Linked DNA regions of Homo sapiens: regions 2, 3, 4 and 5 are each linked to region 1. Evidence: promoter capture Hi-C in human tissues and cell types (Jung and others, 2019). All regions are on one chromosome and are shown on one strand. The core of a region is centred on a gene start or on the middle of the fragment in contact, and the rest is flanking DNA. Distances in the headings are between cores, read along the strand shown.

Region 1 (2,700 bases), core at 21-2,520:
CCCGTGCCAATCCTCCCCACCCCAGCCGCACTCCTGCTTCCACAGCCTCCTCTGGCCTGCACCCTGCACGTGCCCTGGAGCCGCCCATTGTTCTTTCTCTGAATGAGTATCTGTGCCCTACGATTTAGTTGTGTGCTCCTCATTCTCTAATTGCATCCTCTAAATGGCCATCTTCTCTCCCGTAGAGGACTGTGGGCTCCTTGCAGGAAGATGCTGTCGATATGATGGGAACAAGAACAGTTCTGACATGTGACTGGCACTTCTGATGTGCCAGGCCCAGGGCTGGGCGATTTACCTAATTATTTCATTCCATGATGACAATAAACCTGTGTGATCCCACTTGACAGATGAAGAGAGGTTGAGTGGCTTGTCCAAGGTCCCCCAGCTGGGTAGCAGTAGAGCAGGGATTCTCAGCACATCCATCTGACTGTGAGCCTGTGCTTTTCACCACTGCGCAACCCTCTGTCCCTGCTTGCTGCTGGACTCACATTTCCTTGGATGTTCTTCCCGATGGCCTCCACGGAGTCTGCTTCTTGATGGCAGAACAGCCTCCTGCTGCCGTGAGAGCAGAATTACATTCTCTCCCCAAGATGCCCAGGGCCGGCTTCCTTTGTGCTCAGAGAGTGGGGTGGGCTGAGGACACTCAGAGCTTGGTGTGTTCTCCCACCCCCATTTTCTTACCCCTGTGCACCCTGCACTGTGCCACAGCCTCTCTCCCAGCCCCTTTTCCTGTGGACCCCCAAGCTGCCAGAGGGTTCTTGCCAGACCCACAGGGATCCCTGAGCTGCAGGTCTGCCATCTCTCTCTAGAGTTGGTAAGAAAATGGAACCACAGTTCACCAAAAGGCCCCAAGGAGAGGCTCCGGACTGAAGACAGCCACCCCAGCTTCACACCCCCCATCTGGACCTTTCCCCTCTACAGCCTCCCTCCCCTTCCCCCAATCAGAGTCTTTGCTTTGGGGCCCAAGCCCTTGGCTAAGCTCCACCCCTCTCCCAGCATCCTAAAGTTTGGGGGCTGCATTCAAGTCAGAGATTTCCAAGTAGGGGGTGTGTTGGAGGGACTTCTGAGGGCAGCTTGTCCTGGAAGAATGGGGGAAAGGCGGCGTGTGTTGCTGTCCCTGAGGACATCTGTGTAGCTCCCTGGGAGACCCTCTGCCCTTTCCCCCTCCCACCAGCCCGGCGAGCAGGGACCAAGCCTGCTTATTATCACCTGACGCTGCGCAGCCGCTGATCCCATTGGTGGAGGCAGATTCGGTCTGGCTCTCTCGTTCTTTCTCCCTTCTCTGCCTCTCTCTCCTCCACGCTGCTTTGATTTCGCTCTTGCCTCTCTTCTTGCGCTGCTCAGCTGGGAACATCGTCTCACCAGGGGCAGCAGCGACGCGCTGCACAGCCAGACAGGAGCTGGCTGCGGGGCATGGAAGCAGCCTCCTTGGCAGCCGGGAGAGGAGCAAGCGCACGCCACTGCCCGTGACCCAGGCGTCCGGCTGCTGTCCCCTGCCGGGGAGCTCATCCACGCAGAGGTCTCTCCCTGTCCTCCCTGCGAGCTTTTCCTCTGCAGAGCCCAGTGGAGCCAGGTGAGTACCCTTCCTCCCTGGAACCTGCTGCTGTTGATCCTGAGTAGCCGGGATCTGGGGGCTCTAGGGTCCTGCCACCACCCAGGGTGCCCACCTGGACTGCCAGGCCTGACGACCTTGTCCCCTCTCCCCCCCCCCGGCCAGGCCTTTGGCAAAGTGGTTAATGGCTGAATCCAGTCTCTGGGGCACCACAGTTAGTCACCCCGTGACCGTTCTGCTGCAGTCAGCGATGCCAACAGGGACAGCAGGGTGGGGGAAGCATTCCCTGTGGCAGGGTGGCTGTTTGAATGGGCATGGGGAAGGGGCACCGGTGTGCGCGGCGTGTGTGTGTGCGCGCTCGCGAGTTGGCTGGAGGCTTGCTGGCGCAGATAGGTCCGTCTGTCCGCAGTCATGCTCATGTGTGGGTTTTGAATGGTGTGAGGCATGTCTAGAAACATATCTTTCTGGCACACGTGAGGTACATGTGTGTGGGGGACTTATTTGAGTAGCCTGTGGGTGTGCGTGGGTGGGGACACTATGAGGCAGTATATTTAGGGGTAACCATGTCCCTTTTCATGTGTGTGGGAGTGTATGCAGACAGGGGCTTTCTATATGGGGAGGTGAGACCCAGAGCAGGATGGAGTGGGTAAAGAGAAGAAGGGGCAGAAACCATTGTCTGTGGGCAGAGCCACGTAGGTGCACAAACCTGTTGGCATGAAGGCTCAGGGCTGGCAGAGTGTGGCCAGAGGCAAACACATTTTCAAAGTCTGTCTTTGAGCCTGGAGATGATTCGAGAGAGAATACCAGACTTCGGGCGGGGGCTGCTGTGTGTATGAACACACATGTGTGTGCCGGCAGGCGTGTGGGTTGCGTGCCTTCTTGTGGAGGTGGCACACATGCATGTTGGTGCCTGTGGCATCCTCTTTTCCCCACATATGGCTTGTGAGGCGGTGTGCGTGGACGTGTGTGTGCGTGAGCCTGTGGACATGAACATGTCTGGGTGTGCATGGAGGTGACAGATTGAAGAGGGAAAACTGTGGGGCATTCTTAGAATGTGGAAGGTGGCAGCAGGCACCTGAATGTGGAGATGGGTGTGTGGGAGTGAGGACATCTGCGGAGGTGTGGGACGCGGGTGGGTGGGCACTCTT
Region 2 (2,700 bases), core at 2-2,501, 420 kb before region 1:
CCTTATCAGGGGTTTTTAGGTGTGGGGGTGAGAGCACACAGCTAGTGAAATTTATCTTGAATAATTAAAACAGCCAAGAAATTACCTGGAAAAAAATTTTTAATGAGAAGGGATTTGCTTTGCTAAGTATCAGGAACTTTTATACATCTAAATAAATCTGTGTTATTGGCAAAAGGGTAGATTACTCTGTGGTATGGAATAGTAGATGCATTTAATGCTGATAAAATAACTTTTCAAAGGTGGAATTTTTAAAAACTATGTTAAAACAATGGACTAGTCATACACTCAAACTCTAAATGCAGCAAAGATTTAAATATAAAAAATAAACCACTAAAATTCACGTGGAAATGCAAGGGACACACAATAGTCAAAATGATCTTGACAAAGAACAAAGCTGGAGAACTCACACTCCCCAGTCTTAATACTACAAAGCTACAGTAATGAAGGTTGTGTGGTGCTGTTATCAAGATGGACATGTAGATGAATGGAATAGAATTGAAATAAACCCTTACATATATGGACAATTGATTTGTAACAAAGATGCCAGAACAGTTCAGCGGAAAAAGAATAATCTTCAACAAACAGTGCTGGGACAAATGGATAGCCACTTGCCAAGGAATGAAGTTGGACCCCTACCTCACACCATATTTAAAAATTAACTCAAAATGGATCAATGACCTAAATGTAAGAGCTAAACTATAAAACTCTTAGAAGAAAAGACAAGAGTAAATCTTCATGACCTTGGATTTGTCAAAGGATTCTTACATATGACACCAAAAGCATGAACAACAAAAGAAAAAACAGATAAATTGGACTTCATCAAAATTTAAAACTTTCTGCTTCAAAGGACACCATTAAGAAAGTGGAAACCCAGCCCATGGATGAGAGAAAATATTTCTGATTATGGGCTAATACCCAGAATATATAAAGAACTCTTACAACTCAACAACAATAATAATAAAAGTTTTAGAATGAGCAAAGGATTTGAATAGATGTTTCTCCAAAGATATACAAATGAACACATGAAAAGACGCTTAACGTCATTAGTCATTAGAGAAATGCACATCAGAAATACTACCTCATACCCACTAGGATGGCTAAAATGAAAAAGACAGTGTTGGCAAGGATGTGGAGAAATTGGAACCCTTATATACCACTGGTGGGAATGTAAAATGATACAATTACTTTGGAAAACAGTCTGGCACATCCTCAAAAGGTTAAACATAGAGTGACCATATGACCCAGCAGTTTTGCTCCTAGATATATGCCCAAGAGAAGTAACATATCCACACAAAATCTTGAACATAAATGTTTGTCACAGCATTCATTAATACCCAAAAAGGGAAAACAACCCAATTGTCCATCAAATGATAAGTGGATAAACAAAATATAAATCCATACACTGAACTAGTATTCAGTGATTAAAAAAATAAAAGGATGAAGTACTGATATATGCTATGACATGGATGACCTTCAAAAACATTTTGCTAAGTGAAGGAGGCTGACACAAAAGGCCACATACAAATATAATTCTACTTCTGTGCAATGTCCAGAAAAGGCAAATCCATAAAGAAGGCAAAGTAATGGTTGCCAGGGCTGGAGGAGGGGAGTTGTTTGCTAATAGGTGTGGGGTTTCTTTTTGGTGTGATGAAAATGTTCTGAAATTAGATAGCAGTGATTTTTGCACAATTCTGGGAATATACTAAAAACCCCAAATTGTACACTTTAAAAGGGTGAATGTTATGGTATGTTATTTAAAAATAAACCAGATTCTGAGTAAAGATGACAGATTGAATACATACATCTAATTTATCTCCCTCACAAATCCTACAAAAAGCACAGTAAAGCAGTTTTTTAAGGCATAAATCCATAGTTCAGGGAGAATAGAAGAGACATCAACAACAAAATTTGGGAATTAGGGTGCAGTTACATGAGGTAACTGACTTAGTTCCAAGAAAGTCAAGTCCCAAACTGGCGTTTGAGAAAACCAAGAGCCATCCCACCTTACATCCCAGAATTCTCAAAGGTTTGGGAGTTGGTACTAAGTACCTCTAGAAGTTAGGTGAAGCCAAGGGCTGAGATCAGGGTGATTGGTTGAAAACTATGAATAGTTTAGAGCCCTAACATCTCCCTAACTGCTTATCACTGGGAGACTGTCCCCACCCCACCCCACCCTAGCAGAAGAATGAAGAGTCCTACACCCCAACCCCCACCTCCAAAGAATTCTGTACCAGGGGACACAAAGGTGGATTTAAGGTGTGAAACTTACAAAGCTTCAGCCTCAGGGTCCCAACTTAAATGGACCTTTCCCAAGACCCTGGAAGGAACCCTAGGCATGCCTATGTTGTGGTAAACTGAAACATAAAGTGTTTACATTGCAGCGAGTTAGGAAAACCTCTGTCTTCATTCCTGCTTTTACTTCTTCATACTATCCCTCATGTCAGGCAATCCTGGGGTAGCCCAGGCTTTTTTGGGGGATGGAACTAAGGAAGGGTGAATTGGGAGTATACTGTTTTAACTGTACGTTGTAAAGACATCTTTGGAAAATGTTAGTAAAACAAGAAATCACAGGCTCCTGAGTTGGAAATGTGTAACGGTTACCTTTTGTGGTCAATTTTAAATTTACTTAAAAACTAGAGAGAAAATTGGATTTAAAAATAATGGAACACAAAAATGATAAGGTGAGTGCTTAAATATGTA
Region 3 (2,700 bases), core at 1-2,500, 380 kb before region 1:
TAGGTGTGCTACTTACTAGCTGTGCGGCCTCAGTCCATGCCGAGCAAGGGTGCAGGGAATGAGCTAAGGCACAGGAAGCGCTCGGAACAGAGCCCGGGGTAAAGGTGCGCGGTCACGGTAAGCACTATGACAGCCCGAGGTGGCAGGGTACTCACCAGCGGGGCCTCTGACTCTGTAGCCGGGCCCTCATTCTGTGCCTCATCCTTGGGCTCCTTGACCACCTCCTCTTTGATGGCTTCTTCCTCCTTGGTGGCTTCTTCCTTGGCCGCCTCCTCCTTCTCAGGTTCAGGTGGGGACACGACCTTTTCAGGAAGGCTCAGTAGCATCTTATAAACTCTATAGCCAAAATCCCTCTGGAGCATCTCCAGAAACAGCTCGGCCAGCACCATCACCTGATGGGGAGGTGGGAGGGTCCATGAGCATCAGGAAGAAAGACTGCTTCAGGCCCACAAATCCCAGCCCACAGCCTCCCCAAGACTCTTGACACCTGCCTCAAAAGAGATCCTTTCCTTTGGCCTCCGATCCTCCACAATCCCATGGAGGGACAGGTTTACACAGCCAGGGCGTGCGATGACAGCAGGTTCTAGGGGGGGTGGAGGGGCCTCTGGGAGATCAGTGTCCGTTTCCTGCTGTGTGGTGGCCTCTGGAGTTTCTGCGTTCCGTCTAGAAGTGTCTGCTGCTTGCTCCAAGGCATCAGGTGCCTGTTCAGTAGGCTCCGTTTCCTGTGACAACAGCTGAAATGAGACCCTCTGGGTCCCGGGATTAGGCCACCTATATCCCCCGCTGCTGGCTAAGGCACAGCCTTACCCCTTGTGCCTCCTGGGTTGGGGGAGCTGCCTCTGCAGCTTTCTGCTGGCACAGGGCCTCCCACTCCTCCAAAGTAGGCATGATGGTCCAGACATCCGGCAGGTACACCACCACTGTCTGAAGCCGCCGGGGGGGTCCCGGCTGCAGGTACTGAAACTCGGCAAAGCGCCACCTGCACATGGCAAAAGGAGGTACTAACTTCTTTAGTGACAACTCCACGCAGACACCACGTTCACAGGCAAGGGCTTCAGTTTCCAGTCAGCACTCAATGAGCACACACTGCGAACCAAGCTTTGAAGACACAACAGGAAAGCTACAGACCAAGTCCTCAAGAAATGATCAGTCAGTGGGGAGGCCGCAACCACACAAGCACCCTACAAGGTGCAAGGACAACTCCAGGGAGTCTCAAGTGCAGCCTGGTGGCTCAGCCAGATTTTGGCATACACCCCACCCTACCCTGAGGCACCAGAGGGGGAAGGAACGGGACTAGGGGGCAGAGAGCTAACCAGCAGAAAGGGGCAGGGACCGGGCCTTCCCAACAAAACCTCCCCAACCTGGTGCGTTGGTGCAGCTGAGGCTCAGGAAGCCCACTCACCACTTGGTACAGCCGCTCAAATCAATGCCAGTCTGGGCCTGCGCACAGCGGATGGCGGTACGCACCAGCACCTGCGGGTCAGCCTGGGGGTCGAGGCCATCCAGGGAAGGAGACCATTCACCCCCAACCAGCACTGCCTCCTCTTCTTTCCTGCCCAGCAAAAACTGCAAGAAGAGATCAGGGATACAAAACAAAAAACTACATTACCTGGGTCTCCCACTGCAGGGCAAGGCTGCCACCCATCAGGATGAAGGCAGCCGGAAGTGGGGAAGTCCACCACACAGTGAGGTCTCTATCTGCAAACATGAACCAGCCACCTCGCTCTCTCTGACTAGTCGTAACAGCTCTGAGCTGCACCTTCCTCCTGGGTGAAATGAGGGGTGTTCGGCTCTGAGATGCCTCGTTTTATGCATTCAGGAACAGGAGCCGAACACTCAAAACATGACAGGTTGTGCACATTACCCGTGAATGCATCTCCTCCTGCTCTCCAGCTCTTACCTTAATCTGCTTCAGAGGATGCTCTGGCGTCTCCCTTGGCTCAGCCATGTCATCCACAAAGAGCATGCAACAACGATACAATTCCTCCAACCCCGGGGAAGAGAGCAGCAGTACCTGTGCAGGAGGAGACACTCAGAGCTGCCTTCAGCCTCCAGAAATCAGATAAGTGAGAGACGCCTGTCAGCTTACCTTCGAACTATAAGCGGGGTCACTGTCTGCAGTGATGGGCTCAGCACCAGCGTCTGGAGCTGCCTCCTTTTCAGAAGAGACCTGGATCCGGCTTGGATGATGGAGGGAAAAGGGCTGGCTCAGGGGGAAGGCTGATAGCCAACTCAGATGCACGGACAGAAAATCTGAGGGGACCAGGAGGCTGCGGTAACGGCGCTGGAGTTCTAGGAAGTCACAGATGGGGCTACAGGAAGACAGCAAGGGAATCCAGACTGAGCAAAGACTAAAACATTCGAAATGAAACCATCAAAGATTTGAAAAAATGGGCGAATTTTTTTTCAGTCTGAGAACTTTTGAAGTAAGGCACCTCTCAAGGAAGCTAGATCAGATCTGACCACTTAATTTACAAACTCTAGATGGCAAAAGTCAAACTGGGAAAGGGAAAAAAGAAAACACTTATAACACATGACAGAGAAATGGGTCATTGCCTTAATATAAAGGAACTCACAAATCAGTAACAAAAAGTTCAAAAGCCTAAAACGGAAAATTGACATCAATAGGTTCTTAAGAGAAATACATAAGAATTAGAGGCCAGGAAAATATGCTCAATCTCACTTACAATTAAAGAAATG
Region 4 (2,700 bases), core at 185-2,684, 280 kb before region 1:
TTTGAACAACTATTGTGTCAAAGAGGAAATCAAAAAGGAATTTTAAAATTATCTCTAGATAGGTCAGGAGTTCGAGACCAGCCTAAGCAACACAGCAAGACCTCATCTCCTCTAAAAATTTTAAAAACAATTAGCTGGGCATGGCGGTACATCCTGTAGTCCCAGCTACTCAGGAGGCTGAGGCAGGAGGACTGCTTGAGCCCAGGAGTTCAAGGTTGCAGTGAGGTATCATTGTGCCACTGCATTGAGCCTGGGTGACAGAGCAAAACATCCTATCTAAAAAAAAAAAAACCTCAAGATAAATGAAAACAAAAATATACATATCAAAATGTATGGGATGCAGCAAAAGCAGTACCTACAGGAAAGTTTATAGTAATAAATGCCGATTTAAAAAACAAAAAAGATCTGAATTAAACAACCTTATTTTACACTTCAAGAAACTAGAAAAAGGAGAATCAAATAAGCCCAAAGTAAGCAGAAGAAAGGAAAGTTTAGGGCAGAAATGAATCAAATAGAGAATAGAAAAACAACAGAAAAAAGTCAACAAAACTAAGAGTTGGTTTTTGAAAAACTAAACAAAATTGACAAACCCTTAGCAAGACTAAGAAAAAAAGAGATACTCAAATAAATAAAACAAAAAATGAAAGAGGAGACATTACAATAGATGCCTCAGAAATAAAAGGGATCATAACGGACTATTACGAATAATCACACACCAAAACACTGGAAAACCCAGAAGAAATGGATAGAGTCTGGAAATATACAACCTGCCAAAACTGAATCATGAAGAAATAGAAAGCCCAAACAGACCAATAGCAAATATGGAGATGGAATCAGTAATCAAACAGCTCTCAACAAAGAAAAGCACAGGACCAGATGGTTTCATGGGTGAATTCTATTAATCATTAAAAAAAAGAATTAATACCAATCTTTCTTAAACCTTCCAAAAAATAGAAGAGAGAATTCTTCCAAACTCACATTATGAGGCCAGCATCACTCTGATACCAAAGCCAAAGACACCAGAAGAAAGAAAAGTACAGGTGAGTATCTCTGATGAACATAGATTTTTAAATCCTCCATAAAACACTAGAAAGCCAAACTCAACAACATACTAAAAGTATTATATACTGTGGCTAAATGGGATTTATCCCTGGGATAAAAGAAGGCAGAGTATCACTTTGTTCAGCCTCAGCTGGGAACATGTGTGCTGGGTGAGTCAAATTTTTTATCTCATTATTCCCAGTAGCTACATTCTATAATGTTGCTGCAAAAACAGAATTAGCAAATAATGAAACACTACTGCTAAGGGAAATACAGGGTGAAGTTCCTGTGAGGCTCCGGTCATAACATTTTCACCCACCAATTAATATATAACCTTGTTTCAGATGTGTTTCTGTGTAATAATACTTTAGGTCATTTACACTGTTGATTCATTAACATTGAACTCATGGCCAAAACCACCATAACTCATGCCTAAACAAAGCTTATATCTAACACTCGCATATTTTCTCTGTAAGACATACCACAGCCTTTTTGTGCTTAGGGACCCTAGACAGCAGCACTTCAGCACTACACTTGGTGGCCATTCTAAACAGTGAAATCACTCATGAAAAGCACAAAAACATAAAACATCTTTCACTAAATAAAACTCAAAAGAATGCCTGTTTACAACATGAGGGCTGCAAAAAGAAGGTAGGGCATCATTTTGTTCAACCTCAGCTAGGAACATGTGAGTGAGGTGACTCAAATTTTTTGTTGCATTGCACACTACATTCCCATGAATGATTATGAAACCTCTGTAAGTACTGATTTGGGTGTTACAAATACATCTTAGTAAGTGGGGGAATTCACAAATATGAAATCCACAAGTAATGAGAATCAATTATATATCTACAGGATTAAGTTTTAGAAGTAGAATTTCTGGATCAAAGGCCATGTACAAATACCTTTGAAAGATATTGCCAAGTTGATGTCCACAGAAATTGTACCAATTTCTATTCTGACAACAATGAATATGTATTATGCTCTTTATTTTAAGCAATGTAAAAAGAAATAAAAGTTAAATGATTTCATCACATTAGTCACTGGAAAAGTTGGCATGGAGGAATGAAAAATGGTTGTTGGCTGGGTGGGGCTCATCCCTGTAATCCCAGCACTTTGGGAGGCCAAGTAGGGAGGGTCACTTGAGTCTAGGACTTCAAGACCAGCCTGGGCAAAACAGCCAAGACCTTGTTTCTACAGAAAATAAAAAAAGCAGCTGGGCATGGTGGCACATGCCCATAGTTCCAGCTACTCAGGAGGCTGAGGCAAGAGGACTGCTTGAGTCCAGAAGGTTGAGGCTGTAGTGAGCTGTTATGGTGCCACTGCACTCCAGCCCGGGTAACAAAGAGAGACCTTGTCTCAAAATAAAATAAAATAAAATAAAATAAAATAAAATAAAATAAAGAAGAAGAAAGAAAAAAAGACTTTTTACTATCCATCTGACAAGAGATTAATAACCAGAATATGTAAGGAGCTCAAACAATTCAATAGGAAAAATCCAATAATCCAATTTAAAAATGAGCAAAATATCTGAATAGACATTTCTTAAAAGGAGACATAAAATGGCAAACAGGTATATGAAAAGGTATTCAATATCACCGATCATCAGAGAAATGCAAATCAAAACTTCAATGAGATATCATCTCACCCAGTTAAAAT
Region 5 (2,700 bases), core at 177-2,676, 310 kb before region 1:
CAGTAGCATGCAAAAACGAAGACAGAAAAAGAGTGAGTAAACCAACAGCACTGATGGCAGCACAGCCATCCCAGGGGCCCGTTTTTTAGCCTATCCCCATCCATAATGAAAGTCAACTAGTTAGAGAAGCGAGAAGATTATTGCGAGAGACTCAATTGGGGTGGGAGGAATATGGGGTGGGGGAGAGTTTCTAATATTTTTAACATTTCAGGTGCCATGGAACATTGCTCTTTTCATTTTAGGTAGCCAACTGCTACTTTATATCTTGATATCCACGTATCGAAACAACATGTAGAATCAAATAGTTTGACATCACAACAATCCTTAGTTTGTAAAATATCTCAGGTGATATTAAATGAGCTACTGCTGGGTCCTATTCAAAAAGCTTATTTACAACTACATCTTACTGCTCTCAAGTGACTTATTTGGAGTCCAACTGCCCTATTAATTACTTCATTTAAAAAAAAAAGAGTGGCCTTTGAACAGCAGACTGGCATTTGGAAGGAGAGAAAAATAGGTTCCATGTGAAGGGTTATTTCTTGTCCAGGAGTGGAGTACAAAGCTAACAAAAGCATAGAACTATTGAATTCCTAATGCAAATGTGTGTACCCATCTGCTATAAAAATATAGCAGAGGCTAATGTTTCCAATCCATATGGCTTCCATACAGTGTTCAAGAGAGTTGGCCAGTAACTAAGAAAGCCCTCTTCTTTCTTAGCAATGGAAAAGGAAGCAACTTAAAAATTAGTACCAACAGGTAAACTTCCTTGCATCTCCTTTCTCAGACAGTAAAAACGCTAATATATGAAAAGGTACAGGGTGCCACAAGAAAGATCCTATTAGGAGAACCCTGTCAGTTACTCCAGTACCAATTTGCCAAAAGAAGGCAGTGAAGAATAATGAGCAGTAACAGTTTGCTGCTATTCCCAAGGCTTTATATATCAATATGAGAAGAGAAACTGAAAGAACTACATTAACTACCTAATGGAATGTGAAAAATGGATAACTGAAATCTACTTATGAAGTGCTTTCATTTGTCAACCATAGGCAGGCATGTATTAAATCACTGTCACACCCTCTCTAATCTCCTTAAGTAGAACAAATACCCTTGACAAGAAAGCTACAGTGCCTTCTCACAGCACATCACTGATGTAACTGTTAGGAAGTGGGAGAACAAAGCATTGCTGAAACTCTACACTGAGTGTTGGTCTAATTAGAGCTTAAAAGCTACACGGTAAAATGTGTATGATATTACCTTGTTTGGGGCCCTCCCAGAATTGCTATTCACATTGGGTATAAAGATAGCAGCCTGCAGTAAGGGCCATTATAAGAAACAGTCATATCAAATGACCCGAACTTTTGTTTTCCTTTTTAACATCTTAACTGAAATAGAATTCATATACCACAAAACTCACTTGTTTAAAGTATACAAGTCAATGGTTTTAATATAGTAGAGCTGTGCAACCATCACCACAATCTGTGCTTAGAATATTTTCATTGCCCCAATGAGAAATCCCCCACTTATTAGCACTCACTTCCCATTTCCTTCCCTCACCTCTTCCCCTTAATCCTGGTTGAACACGAATCTACTTTCTCTCTAGATTGGTCTGTTCTGGACATTTCAAATGAGTGGCATCATATAATATGTGGTCTGTAGTGACTGACTTCTTTCACTTAGCATAATGTTTTCAAGGTTCAGTCATGTTGACATGTATACCTGCATTTAATTCCTTTTTATGGCTGAATAGTATTCCATTGCGTTTACCACATTTTGTTTATCCAGTTTATGGACAATTGCTTTTTTCTGCTTTTTGGCTATTATGTTGAATGCCATTTATGAACATTTGTGTACAAGTTTTTGCGAGGACATATTTTCATTTCTTTGTGGGGTATGTAGCTATGACTGGAATTGCTGAGTAATAAGTCAATTCTATGTTTAATCATTTGAAGACCTGTCAGAATGTTTTCCAAAGCAGCTGTACCATTTTACATTTCCACCAGCAGTGTTAAGAAGGTCCCAATTTCTCCACATTCTCATCAACACTTCTTATTAACTGCTGTCTTTTCACAGCCATCCTACTGACTGTGAAGTGGTATCCCATTGTGGTTTTGATTAGCATTTTCTGAATGTCTAATGATGTCAAACATCATTTCATGTGCCATTTGTATGTCTTCATGGGAAAAATGTCAATTCAATTCTTTACCCATTTTTAACTGGGTTGTCTTCTTATTCAGTTGTAAGAGTATATTTTCTAGATACCAATCTCTTAGGAGATATATGATTTGAAAACATTTTCAACCATTCTGTGGGATGTCTTTTCATTTTCTTGATAGTACCATTTGCAGTACAGAGTTTTTAATTTTGATGTAGTCCAATTTATAACTGATCTGTTTTAATCTGATGGTCTTTGTGAATCTTGTCCTGTCCTTGGCTTTCCCCACTATTTTGGCTACTGGGATGCTTAGAGTCAAATTTGTGGCTATTGGCTTTATTTTTATTTACCTTTGTGCTTCAATTTCCAAGCATATTTATTTTACTCCACTATGTTTCATGTATACTGTAACTCACGCCAATCCCTCTTAGATCAAGGTGAGACATACATGAATGTATGTTACATGGCCATATGGGATACTGTTGGTTGAAAGCTCTCCAAGTTAAGTTATATGAACAATAAAAGGTCTTTTTTAGTTAATGCTCCAG

Evidence for each region. Contacts are between HindIII fragments. The study calls those that stand out against the background at their distance.
Region 2: a contact is called between a fragment that was not itself captured here and the fragment with the promoter of PHYHIP in region 1, in 1 of the 25 tissues and cell types used here (dorsolateral prefrontal cortex).
Region 3: a fragment that was not itself captured here is called in contact with the fragment with the promoter of PHYHIP in region 1 in 5 of the 25 tissues and cell types used here (H1 embryonic stem cells, bladder, dorsolateral prefrontal cortex and 2 more).
Region 4: a fragment that was not itself captured here is called in contact with the fragment with the promoter of PHYHIP in region 1 in 1 of the 25 tissues and cell types used here (liver).
Region 5: a contact is called between a fragment that was not itself captured here and the fragment with the promoter of PHYHIP in region 1, in 1 of the 25 tissues and cell types used here (hippocampus).

The regions. Positions count from the first base shown.
Region 1 is chr8:22,230,669-22,233,368 of GRCh38, reverse strand. PHYHIP (phytanoyl-CoA 2-hydroxylase interacting protein) reads left to right here and starts at 1,270. Exons shown (of 5, transcript NM_014759.5): 1 at 1,270-1,573. RefSeq lists enhancers at 893-1,640, 2,566-2,700. The HindIII fragment of the contact is 22,356 bases long and covers 1-2,700 here.
Region 2 is chr8:22,653,401-22,656,100 of GRCh38, reverse strand. The region is part of intron 1 of BIN3 (bridging integrator 3); the gene reads left to right. Among named protein-coding and RNA genes, the nearest start is that of BIN3-IT1, 13 kb to the right of the region's middle. The HindIII fragment of the contact is 8,304 bases long and covers 1-2,700 here.
Region 3 is chr8:22,613,704-22,616,403 of GRCh38, reverse strand. CCAR2 (cell cycle and apoptosis regulator 2) reads right to left here. Exons shown (of 21, transcript NM_001393997.1): 9 at 2,090-2,312; 10 at 1,901-2,014; 11 at 1,403-1,566; 12 at 808-979; 13 at 492-722; 14 at 156-392. Among named protein-coding and RNA genes, the nearest start is that of CCAR2, 10 kb to the right of the region's middle. The HindIII fragment of the contact is 7,299 bases long and covers 1-2,700 here.
Region 4 is chr8:22,515,659-22,518,358 of GRCh38, reverse strand. The region is part of intron 6 of PPP3CC (protein phosphatase 3 catalytic subunit gamma); the gene reads right to left. The region is part of intron 1 of LOC124901905 (a long non-coding RNA gene); the gene reads left to right. Among named protein-coding and RNA genes, the nearest start is that of SORBS3, 35 kb to the left of the region's middle. The HindIII fragment of the contact is 3,233 bases long and covers 1-2,700 here.
Region 5 is chr8:22,536,752-22,539,451 of GRCh38, reverse strand. All of the region lies in intron 12 of PPP3CC (protein phosphatase 3 catalytic subunit gamma), which reads right to left. All of the region lies in intron 1 of LOC124901905 (a long non-coding RNA gene), which reads left to right. Among named protein-coding and RNA genes, the nearest start is that of SORBS3, 14 kb to the left of the region's middle. The HindIII fragment of the contact is 5,260 bases long and covers 1-2,700 here.